Regions from separate parts of the Homo sapiens genome. Here all the other regions are linked to region 2. Evidence: promoter capture Hi-C in 16 types of primary human blood cells and fetal thymus (Javierre and others, 2016). All regions are on one chromosome and are shown on one strand. Each heading gives the region's core, a stretch centred on a gene start or on the middle of the fragment in contact. The rest is flanking DNA. Distances are from core to core; before and after follow the strand shown.

Evidence for each region. Contacts are between HindIII fragments. The CHiCAGO score rates a contact against its expected background, and 5 or more counts as called.
Region 1: a fragment that was not itself captured here is called in contact with the fragment with the promoter of GOLT1A in region 2 in 1 of 17 cell types (megakaryocytes); the score reaches 5.3 in megakaryocytes.
Region 3: a contact is called between a fragment that was not itself captured here and the fragment with the promoter of GOLT1A in region 2, in 1 of 17 cell types (megakaryocytes). The highest score is 6.3, in megakaryocytes.
Region 4: a contact is called between a fragment that was not itself captured here and the fragment with the promoter of GOLT1A in region 2, in 1 of 17 cell types (megakaryocytes). The highest score is 5.5, in megakaryocytes.

The regions. Positions count from the first base shown.
Region 1 is chr1:204,314,434-204,317,197 of GRCh38, forward strand. The region is part of intron 1 of PLEKHA6 (pleckstrin homology domain containing A6); the gene reads right to left. Among named protein-coding and RNA genes, the nearest start is that of PLEKHA6, 44 kb to the right of the region's middle. The HindIII fragment of the contact is 446 bases long and covers 1,132-1,577 here.
Region 2 is chr1:204,212,628-204,215,424 of GRCh38, forward strand. It overlaps GOLT1A (golgi transport 1A), which reads right to left and starts at 1,361. Exons shown (of 5, transcript NM_198447.2): 1 at 1,255-1,361. The coding sequence starts at 1,279. RefSeq lists an enhancer at 1,232-1,888. The HindIII fragment of the contact is 7,307 bases long and covers 1-1,730 here.
Region 3 is chr1:204,337,239-204,340,054 of GRCh38, forward strand. The region is part of intron 1 of PLEKHA6 (pleckstrin homology domain containing A6); the gene reads right to left. Among named protein-coding and RNA genes, the nearest start is that of PLEKHA6, 21 kb to the right of the region's middle. RefSeq lists enhancers at 1-88, 873-1,656. The HindIII fragment of the contact is 9,408 bases long and covers 1-2,816 here.
Region 4 is chr1:204,292,304-204,295,003 of GRCh38, forward strand. The region is part of intron 1 of PLEKHA6 (pleckstrin homology domain containing A6); the gene reads right to left. Among named protein-coding and RNA genes, the nearest start is that of PLEKHA6, 66 kb to the right of the region's middle. The HindIII fragment of the contact is 6,726 bases long and covers 1-2,700 here.

The DNA of each region.
Region 1 (2,764 bases), core at 105-2,604, 100 kb after region 2:
ACAATGGAGTGACTGGGCCAACAGTAAGTGCAGAGAAGGATCCTGGAACGACAAGACTGATCCTAACTGGCCACCACTCCCCCTGGCCTGGGGATGGTCTAACCAAGGAGACTGGAGGGGAATAGACAGACACCTGCTGCCTCTGTAGCTCCTGGCGGACCTCACTCTCAGGTGTCAGATGAGTATCCCAACCAAGCTGGGGCGAGAAATAGCAGAATCCTCCTTAACTTCTTCTCCTGTGCCCTTCCCTGAGTCAAGCTTGTCTTTCTTCTAGGCCCTTATCTCCCTGCCTCAGAGACCTTTATCCACTTCATCTCTTACCTCCACAATGGCGCAGGGGCGGTAGAGATGCTGGTATGGATGCCCACAAGCTTTTCACAGGGACAGCATGTATGCTGGTATTTGGGGAGTAGGGAATAGTACTCAGGGATGGATCTAGGTCTTCTAATTCCACAGGGGCTTCAGTGACTCCAAATCCAACCCCTAGAGGTATCAATGTAGGCCTCGGTGCCCTCATGTGATCCAGAGCTCTGCCAGCTTGGCTCGGAACGCTGGCACACACTCCTGCACCACACCAAGATATGTGGGTTCACTCTGGCAGAAATGGGAGAATGACAGCCCTGTCCAGCTGTTTTCCAGTTCCTGTGAGACAAACTGGACTTTGATTACAGCAGGAATGGTTTAGGTTAGATAGTAAGAATCACTTGAAATGGGTGATAAGAGGACATTTAGGACTCTGTCCTTGGCCTTTAAAATTAAAGCCAATTTCCCCTCCACTGGCTATGGCTCAATACCTGTTTCATCATGTGACTCTCTTGCTCAGAAATCCTCAGTGGTTACCCCTCCCCTGCCTGCTACATAAGGGTCCACCTCCACGGTTTGGCATCCAAGGCCCACTGCGGCACGTCCCCACTCATCTTTCAAACGTCATATTCTATGGCTCCATGTGTAAGTTTTCTAGTTCAACCTGACTGAACTTTGCAACATTTCCCCGAAAGGCCTTAGGCATTCCTGCTCTGGCAGCGTCATTCCCCTTCCCTCTCCCCCAGATGCCTGTTAAATCCAAATCTCCCAGGGGAAGGCAGGTGGACACCGTGTTAGGGCTGAGCTCAAATGCCACCTCTTCCAGAAAGCTTCAGTTAAACACCCCCAGCCCACAGAAAACCCCCTCCGCCGTGAAGTTGTAGGCATATGTTAGCCAGTCATTCCCTAGAAATGTCCTGAGCATGACAGTGCTAGAGACTGAGCAGAGATGTGGTCCCCACCTTCAAGGAAACCCTAATCTAGAGAGTGGATACAGATAAAAGCAAACCAACAAAACCATCCTCCCGTGACAGGCAGCCTGGGATGAGGGCAGCGTGAGTGGGGAGCCGGGGAGATGCCCAGGGGAGGCCACAGCATGGAGACGACAGCATGAGAGGAGGAGGCTGGGCGTTTTAGAGGGAGTCACATTAAGGAGACGGGAGATTACTGGGGTACCTGGACTAGGTAAAGGTTCGTGTTGGGAAGTAACGATAATTCTATAAACATTTACTGTGTGTTTACTATGGACACTGTGGGAATGCTTCCTATTTATAAGCTTGCTTATTCCTCATAACTAAATGAAGCTGGACGGGTATTTGGGGGCCAGACTGTGGAGTCCCACGATGCATGTAATGCAATGCGCGAGGTGGCTCCCGCTCAATAAATATTTTCTCGTTGATCAATGGATAAATGATCTTTGAAGGCTCACTCCCAGTGGGAGGAAGCTAGAATTTCTCAGGAGCAACTAAAGCTCTGAAAAATATTTTTCTAACTTTTTAAACTATTAAAAGAAACATCGGGACTGACAAGGGGAGGAGAGGCCCTGGTTGGGTAAGAACCTGACTTTCTCGATACAGGATGTGGAGAGTGGGTGTTGGAGCACTCCCTGTGCCCACAAGAAACCCAAGTAGGCTCAGGGAGACAGCTGCCGGGAAAGACAGCTGCAGGCCGCTCAGAATAGGGACACGGGAGAAATGCTTTCAATGGGTGAGTCCAGGGGTACCCAACCCCTTGTTCCCAGTGCCTTTGCAGGATATGTGGGGGTAGGGTTCACTCAGCACCACCCAGAGCTGGCAGAGCCTCCGGAGCTGAGTTTGCCCTGCCTCCCCACTCATTGGCACGGTGACTTGGCTAACTCATTCCAGAGAGATGGAGGTCCTTCTAAAAGGTCACAGTTTCCCTCGGTTTCCCATCTTTTCTGGCCTCCCAGTCTTTGATTTAACTTTTATCTGGCCAACTGGAATTTAAGCCCATTCTCCACTGGAGAGCTCAATACAGGTATCAAACTTACCTATTTGAACCCATTCCCCACTAGGGAAATCAATAAAGATGTCAGCTCATTCCTCTTTCCTTTGGCATCTGCGTTAGGATATCCCAGGGTGGGACTCAATCACCCTACTGGTATTTTACCAGGCGCAACTAGGGCTGAAGAACGGAGAAGCCAAATGATGAACCCCAGACAGATAAAGCGGCCTCCTCGTATCCACTCCTTAAACACCTCCAAGGCCAATCACATAATCTACCGTGCCATCTGCAGCTGAAATAACCAGAACTGGACATCTGGAGGTACCTTCCAGTCTCCTCCAGCCTGGACCAAATCACTGAGCATCTCTCAGCCTCTTTTCCCCACCTGTAGAATGGAATGGAACCTGTGCTCACCAAATTCAGCTCTTCTGAGCATAAAATAACTTGGTAAATATAAAAATGTCTCAGAAAGTTAAACCAAAGAGTTAAGCATAGG
Region 2 (2,797 bases), core at 111-2,610:
CTCTGTCTCAAAAAAAAAAAAAAAAAAAAAGAACTGGCTTCCCTGCTGCTGCCTTCATACCTCCACAGTCTATTCTCAACCCAGCACCCAGAATGATCTTTTAAACATAGAAATAGAACATATCACACCATAGCACAAAACCAAGGTCATTACCATGGTCTATAAGTCTCCAGTGTCCTGACCCCTCAGTGACATCCCTGACCTAAACTCCTATGATTCTCCCCTCACCTCACTTTGCTCCAGGTATACCCACCTCCTTGTTGTTCTTCAAACACACCAAGTATGCTAATGCCTCAGGGCCTTTGCACTGCCTGTCCCTGCTTCCTGAACATTTCCCCTCCAGAGAGCTGCGTGGCTTTGCTTCCTCACTTCCTATAGATCTCTGAAAAAAGATCTGAATAAAGGCTCACCTTCTCAGTGAGGCTTCCCTGACCACTCTATATAAAATAGCGACCCCTCCTACCTCGAACTCCATAGCCTCCTCTTGTTTTATTTTCATCTGGAGGACTTATCATCTTCTGATATACTATATACTTCTTTCTGTTAATTACCTGTCTCCCCTCTCTAGAATGTAAGCAGGGAGTCAGTTTCATTTAATGTTGGACACTCTATATCCAACACAGTGCTTGGCACACAGCAGAGACAAATCTGTTGAGTGAACAAAAGAATGTTGTCACCAATTCTCAGATGAAAAACCAAGGCTCAGAGGCTTTAAGTAACTCACCCAAATGAAGCCCACAGAGCCACGGTTCTTCCCATGGCCCCAGACTTGTTCCAAGACCTCCTCCCTACCTCTTCCCCCAAAAGAAGGGGAAGGATGTTTAGGAGTGAGGGTATGGTGGTTTGGTCAGGGGAGTGGAGTTTAGTTTTTTATAAGAAGCCCCCAGGGCCACAGGAGACCTTGATGGTGTGGGGAAAGATGTCTGAATGGGCAGAGGCCTCCTGAGTCCACCTTTGTGGCAACCCAGTTCTAAGAACCCGGGATGGGAAAGGGGTCAGTGTGAATGGGGAACCTGCCAGGCCCCCTGGGCACCAGCCTCTAGCTACCTGTGGGCCCTGAGCAACTCCCACCCGCTGGAGGGTAGGGAGCCACACCCCACCCTGCCTGCTGCCCCAGGGTGCCAGCACAGCATCTCCCAGCCCCTGGCTCCAGAGGTCACGCTTGTAGTGACAGAGAGCCCAGCTGGGAGAGAGAGCCAGCCGGCAGGGAGCCTGGCCTGGATAGCCCATTGCAGCCCCGCTCATCCCACTTACTCTGCCATTCGGTGATGGAGATCATGCCGCACTCAGCCTGGGGGGCTTTCCGGGTGGAAGCGGGCAAGTGGAGCGTGGCCCAGAGGACGCAGCTGGTACATGGTCACGGGAAGCTGACCCTTGGTTAAGTTGCGAAATGAGCCTGTGGCAAATCATTAACTCTCCCTCCAGCCCCCGCTCCACCCCCGCACACCACGCAGGTGCTTCTACTCGCCAGCTCCCTCCTCCCGTTTTCCGGTAGGGCAATGCCCCGCCCCTCCACCTGCCGCGCCTGCCCGGGGAAGGCACCGCCCACCTGACCCTTTCCTCGCACCTCGCGGTGTTCTGCGGCTCTCGTCTGCTCCGCGAAACTTAGATTGTATGTGGAAGCATTGGAATCTAGGGGGTGCTCAAGTTTCTTGCTTGGTTTGATAGTGTGGGAAGAGTTGGCATCTGCGCATCCCTTTGGGAATGTACTAAATTCATCTTGAAAGTCAAGCTTTTTGCTCTCTGCTATTGCACATGCTAGGCGCTGGGAGGCGATGAGCGACTGAGCACAAAGCCTGTTGTTGACCTAATGGCAGAGCCAGATCGGGTTAAATCAATGGCAAAAGCGCCATGGGGGAAGTTAGACGTGAAGGTCTTCGACCTCCTTTCCCCAAGCGGCGTCCAAGCTTTGGACTGACTGTGATGTTGAGCTATGGAAGACAAAGCCCTGAATTTGGGGTTGGGGCAGGACTGCACAATTTAGGAGGCCTGGTTCTAGTCTACCCACCAGCTGTGTAGACATGGATTCGTCCTTTGGGCCTGCAAAAAGAGAGGCAGTTAGTTCCTAACATCCTTTTTTCCCATCGCAGAGCAGTGGTTCTGACGTGGCATTGATGCCAGGAGAGCCAACATCCACTTTGCAATGTCTTCTGTGTCCAGAAATGAAGAAATGAATTTCAAAGACTACCTATATACATCATTTAAAAATGCAAATAGGCCTGGCATACAAAATGCATTATGTCTGTAATCCCAGCATTTTGGGAGGCCAAGGCAGGAGGATTGCTTGAGCCCAGGAGTTTGAGACCAGCCTGAGCAACATAGTGAGACCTTGTCTCTACAATAATAAAAATAAAAAATTAGCCGGATGTGGTGGTACCTGCCTGTAGTCCCAGCTACTGGGGAGGCTAAGGTAGGAGGATTGCTTGAGCCCAGAAGGTCGAGGCTGCGATGAGCTGTGATCAAGCCATGCACTCCAGCCTGGGTAGCAGAGCGAGATCCTGTCTCAAAAAAAAACAAACCAAACAACAACAACAAAACCAAGGAAAGCTAACATAATTTTTTAAAAAGAAACAAAAAGATAAATTATAATAAAACATGATGTCTTTCAATATATAAATGTTCAGGCAAGACTTACCAGAAGACATAAATGAAATAGGCAGATTGCTTGCACCCACACATAATATATGTTTGAATTTAAGAGAAATAGAAGATGAGCCATTCTATGCAAAAACAAAAATCACACACATGCAAGAAAATGAAAGAGTAGCAGGAAGTGAACATAGAATAAAAACTGTTA
Region 3 (2,816 bases), core at 142-2,641, 120 kb after region 2:
AGCCAGCTCCTCCCTTCCCAGGCAATGCTTCAGGCCAGAGAATGAGGAGACCAGAGCCAAAGGAATAAGAAGGAAGGGAATCAGGAAGCAAAAGACATAAATTGTAGCTCTCCCCAGCTCTACCAAGCAAGCCCCTTCCCAGTAGCTGCTACCTTCTTACTAGCCTACATCCTAACTCACCCGGCGAGATGTCACCATTGCAGAATCATTCTGAATGGGGCTCCTACATGCTCTGAGACAGAGCAAGACCAAAAAATGGAAAACAGAACTGAGTAGTGAAGACAACAAGTGAGCATGAGATGAGGAAAAAGAAAGAATTAATGAGCTCTCGTTGGAATTAATTTTAAAGGAGCAAACAAAAGCAATTAATGTGGAAGGGTGGAATCCCTCACCTCAGCTGCTCTAGGAGAAGCCTCCGGGGTGACTGGAGACCTGGCTGTCTGCACTGTGTTAGAAAGAAGATGGCGGTCTCTCACTTGGGGGGGGAATCCAGGGAAAATGACTCACTTGTGCTCCAGTGGAAGGGGAGGAGCAATTGGGAGGCACGTACCACAATAGTCATATGTATGCTGGTGAACAACGCACACACCCAAAGATGAGGAGGGCAAACCCGTCAACTGCGTTGCCAGCCATAAAGCATGCCAGGTGGGTAAAGTGCTTGTCAAAGCCTTGAGAACAAGAAGCCATGGCATGACAGGCAATAGGGAATGAATGCCCACTTGATGCCAAGTGCAGCCCTGGATGGCTTACAGTCTTATTTCTTTTCATCCAAACAACCCTATGAAGTATTCTTCTCTCCATTTACAGATGAGGAAACTGAGGTTCCAAGAGGTTAAGCCTACAGAAGGGAATGTGTGCCTTAAATTCCCGAAGACCTAGATTTGAATTATGGCTCCACGACTTTCTAACTAGGTGACCCAACTATGTCACTGTGCACATGTTACCTAACATTTCCAAACCTCAACTCCATCCTCTATAAAATAGGAATGCTGCTACTTACTTTCCAGCTCTACCAAGGAAGTCCCTTCCCAGTGGCTGCCACATATGTAAAAGAATGTAAAAGAATTCTTTTACATATGTGAAAGAATATATGTAAAGCTCCTAGCCTGCTCTGTTAAATGCACATACAAAGTGTGTGGCAAGTGCTTGTTCTCTTCCCACCATCCCCCGCTCCATTAAGGTCATTAGTTCATAAGAACTCATTAGTTCAACAGGAAGTGCAGTCTCAAATGTGTGAAAAAGGGGAAAGCAGATGGAATTTATGGAAGCCCTTTTCTATGCCAGGAACTTTACTAGGTCTTTAGGGTGGGGTGTTGAGATTAACAAGAAGAACATGACAGAGTCTTTGCCTTCCAAGAGTTTACAACCTAGCAAGCCAAGCCCATAAACAACTGTGAGAAGAGCCATGTGAGACAAAGGCAGATAAAGACAGGGAGACTTGTGGCTCCTGTGGGCAACCAGGGAAGGCTGAGAGATCAGATGACTTCTGAAAACGGGCAGGATTTTGGTAAATGGAAGTAAGACAGGAGCAGACTGCTTCTGTGGAAATGAAGGGGATGGGGAGAGGGACTCTCGCATGGCCTCTCCTAAGGCAGACCCCGGTAGGATGCATAGGCTACTAACCAATACATGCTTTCAGTCTTCAAGAGTGGAAGACCAAAAAGGTCTGCAGATTCTTTGCTGTTCCCTCCCATTGGGAAGTGGAGTCAATTCCCCACCCCGTGCATCCGGGCAGGCTCAGTTGGACCAGCAGCATGTAACGGACATGACTCTGTGTGACTCCTGAGGCTAGGGCATAAGAAGTCTTGCAGTTTCCACTTGGGTCTCCTGGAACGCTCTCTTGAGACATTCTGTCTTAGAACCAACCGCCTCACTGAGGGAAGTCCAAGCCACGTGGAGAGGCCACTTGTGGTGCTCAGGTTGACAGGCCCCGCTGAGCTCCCCGATGACAGCTGGCATCCTTTGCCAGACATGTGAGGAGCCTCCCTGGCAGCCCAGCCAGTCGAGCCTTCAGAGGATGGCCACGGCCGGAAATGACCCAAGCAAGGGCTACCCCTCCCCGAGCCCAGTCAACCTAGAGAACCCTGAGAGACAGGCATCAGCCCTTGTTCTCAGCCACTACATTTTGGGTGGCCTGCTATGCGGCAATACATAACCGGAACACTAAGTCTCCATCTCACCAACCTGGGCTGTTACTAGGGAAATTGGGGCAAGGATCATACTCAAAATGGATGTGAAAAGAGGTGAGAAGAAGAGGAATTGTGTGCTGGGAGAGGGAGAGGAGGGAATCAGTTAAACTTTCCCAGTAGCCTCCAGCTCCCCAAGCCCCTCCATTCTTCCCAACAGGATCCCAGATCAATATAACTTCATAATTCAATGAACCCCCAGGGAAATAACTAGGGGGAAAATCAGTACATGTAAAGACATTTATAGCAGAGCTATTCATAATAGCAACAAATTGGAAACAACCCAAATTCTCAGTAATAAGAGAAAAGCAATCCAGTAATGGAGCAACATGACAGAATTACTTATAGCTATTTAAAATGACAAATTTATAGATCATTATCATACCTGGGAGTGTTTGTATAAAATAATATTAAACAAAAAAGAAATTCATGACACAAGACACTAGCTACACATCAATTACAACTATATAAACACAGGATTACAACTATATAAACTATATTAACTGTATAAACTAATTACAACTATATAAACTATATTAACAAAGATCAGGAGGCACATGGAATAGGCATATCCTTTAACATTTGCTTACCCATTTTTAGGCAAAGTTAATTAAGCATTACTTTTTTAAA
Region 4 (2,700 bases), core at 40-2,539, 80 kb after region 2:
CATTTTACAAAACAAAATCCCTGAAGCTGGAAGTGTTGGCTGAGATAACCCACCTCATATACCTGAGGCAAGGCTAACCTCGGGGTCTGTTAACCTCAGTCCGAAGCTCTTTCCTCAGGGCCACAAGGAGCTGCCCCGACCTGGCTGATGCCCACCTATGTCCCTCACCCGGGCACTATGTCCCTCACCCTGGCTGATACCCACCTGTGTCCCTCACCCTGGCTGACGCCCACCTATGTCCCTCACCCTGGCTGATGCCCACCTGTGTCCCTCGCCCTGGCTGATGCCCCCCATTTCCCTCACCCTGGCTGACGCCTACCTGTGTCTCTTGCCCTGGCTTGGTCTTTGTGGTGCTCACCCAGCACTGGGTGGATGCTCCTGGAGCATGCCAGTGGCAGCACCTGAGAGGCTCCTGGGATGGATGGAAACAGGGTCAGGACAGGTCAACTAAGGGGAGCACTGCAAGACAGGGAAGACTGATAGAAATGAGGGATGCAAAGTCTAATTAGATCACACATTTGATGTGAAGAGGGGGAATAAAAAACAACCAAATGCCACTCCCAAGGCGGAAGTCTGGAGGTTGTGGAAGCAGCTGGAAGCTGTTAGTGTTAGAGAGCTCCCGGCCAGACACACGGCTGCGTTCCAGGCCTCTGTACCCCTCCCCTCCCGCCTCTTCTCTGTACCCTAACCTTCCTCCTCCTGGCATGGAGCCCCACCTCTCTCCCCCAACTTGTTCTGAGGGTGGGATGACTGGGAGAGGGAGCAAGCCCACACTGTGGGAGTGGGGGAGGGAGCACAAAGTTTAAGGGGCATCCAAAAACTCAGTAATCAGACTTTTTTTTTTTCTTTGAGATGGAGTCTTGCTCTGTCACCCAGGCTGCAGTGCAGTGGCGCGATCTTGGCTCATTGCAACCTCTGCCTCCCAAGTTCAAGCGATTATCCTGCCTCAGCCTCCCAAGTAGCTGGGACTACAGGCATGTGCCACCACACCCAGTTAATTTTTGTATTTTCAGTAGAGATACGGTTTCACCATGCTGGCCAGGCTGATCTCGAACTCCTGGCCTCAGGTGATCCGCCCGCCTTGGCCTCCCAAAGTGCTGGGATTACAAGCATGAGCCACTGCACCCGGCCAATCAAGACTTATTTTAACGCGATATTTTTGAAATAAAAATTAACATTAAAAACCCATGATGAATGAAATACCAACATTTCAAATAAAGACAGGACCAGTATCACTGGAATTTCCCTTTTGCCTCAGCCTCCAATTTGGCTTAAAGTGGCACTGTTTTAGATCCTGTCTTTATTTCGAATGTTACTATTTTGTTCTTCATGAAATGTTTGCATTGATTTTGATTTTAAAATTATTGCATTGAAATGTTATTTATCTTGACTACCGAGTTTTTTGGCACCCATTTGGCAAAATGTAAGACATTTTGTACCTAAGGGGAGTGTATTAATCGCCTTACTCTAGTCAGCCCTGCTCAGGGATGAGGAAAGACGGGACAAGGCTCAGGAAGTCCCAGAGAGGATCCTGTGCTCTTTAAGAAAACTTCAATGCATGAACATGGAGAAAGGCTGAGGGACTTTCCAGACTGAGAGGAAAGAGACATGATCCTGAATTGGATTCTAATGACATTATTAGGACAACTGGTGAAATTTCAATATGGACTGTATATTAGATAATAGAATTGTATCGATGTTATTAAGTTTCCTGAGTCTGTTAATTGTACTGTGGTTATGCAAGAGAATGTCCTTGTTTTTAAAAGGAAAAAGAGAAGATGAAGAAAGAGTGGCCAGAGCGTGACAGCTGCTTGACAGCTGCATTAAGCCAAACACCCTTCTCTCTCTCCAGCCTGTCTCTCCTCCAATTCCAGGCCATCCCAGGAGGATACGGAGGAAGTGGTGATGGCAGAAAATCTTGTCCAGAAGATAGGGTACTGGAGGGCTGGTTGGACATTTCTTCTTGAAATAAGAATTAACCTTGAATTCCCAAATTACCCTTCACCCTCCCAGGAAAACTTGACAACTAGCACAGAAAGAAAAAGGAAATTAACACCTATCCAAGTCATGATGCTAGCGAATTCTCTGCTTAACCCCCAGAGATAGGTATTGCTGTCCTGCTGTTGCGGAGGAAGAACCTGAGAGGTCAGGTTATTAGCCCAAGGCTACACAGTTAGGAAGTGAGAGAACTGGGATTAGAGCCCAGGACACAGCCCAAAGCCAGCTTTCTTCCCACTTTATGTTAGTTGTGCAACTTGAAATTCCCTTCTCATGCATCATCCTACCAGCTAATCCTTTCGTTTATTTTTATTGAGTTGAATCCGCATTAGCCTTGAGATTTTTGGCTCTGGAGTCAGACTGCCCCAGTTCCAATCCCGGCTCCACCAGTTACTACCTAAGGGACTCTGGGTGAGAAACTTAACCTCTCTGTGCTTTCATTCCCCCATCTGTGAAAACGGGATAATATACGGACCTTCTTCATGGGTTCGTCACAGGAGTAAATAAGATTATACCCACAAAAAATTTATGAAAGGTTCTGGCACTTAGTAAATGTTCAATAAATGCTAATAATCATTATTATCTGTCTGCATCTGCCTTGGGCTATTTATCCTTAGGAGACAGTGGCTCAATTTTGATTATAAAACCCCTCACCACTTTGACACCTACAGATGGATGCTTAATAATTTGTTCCTAAAGAAG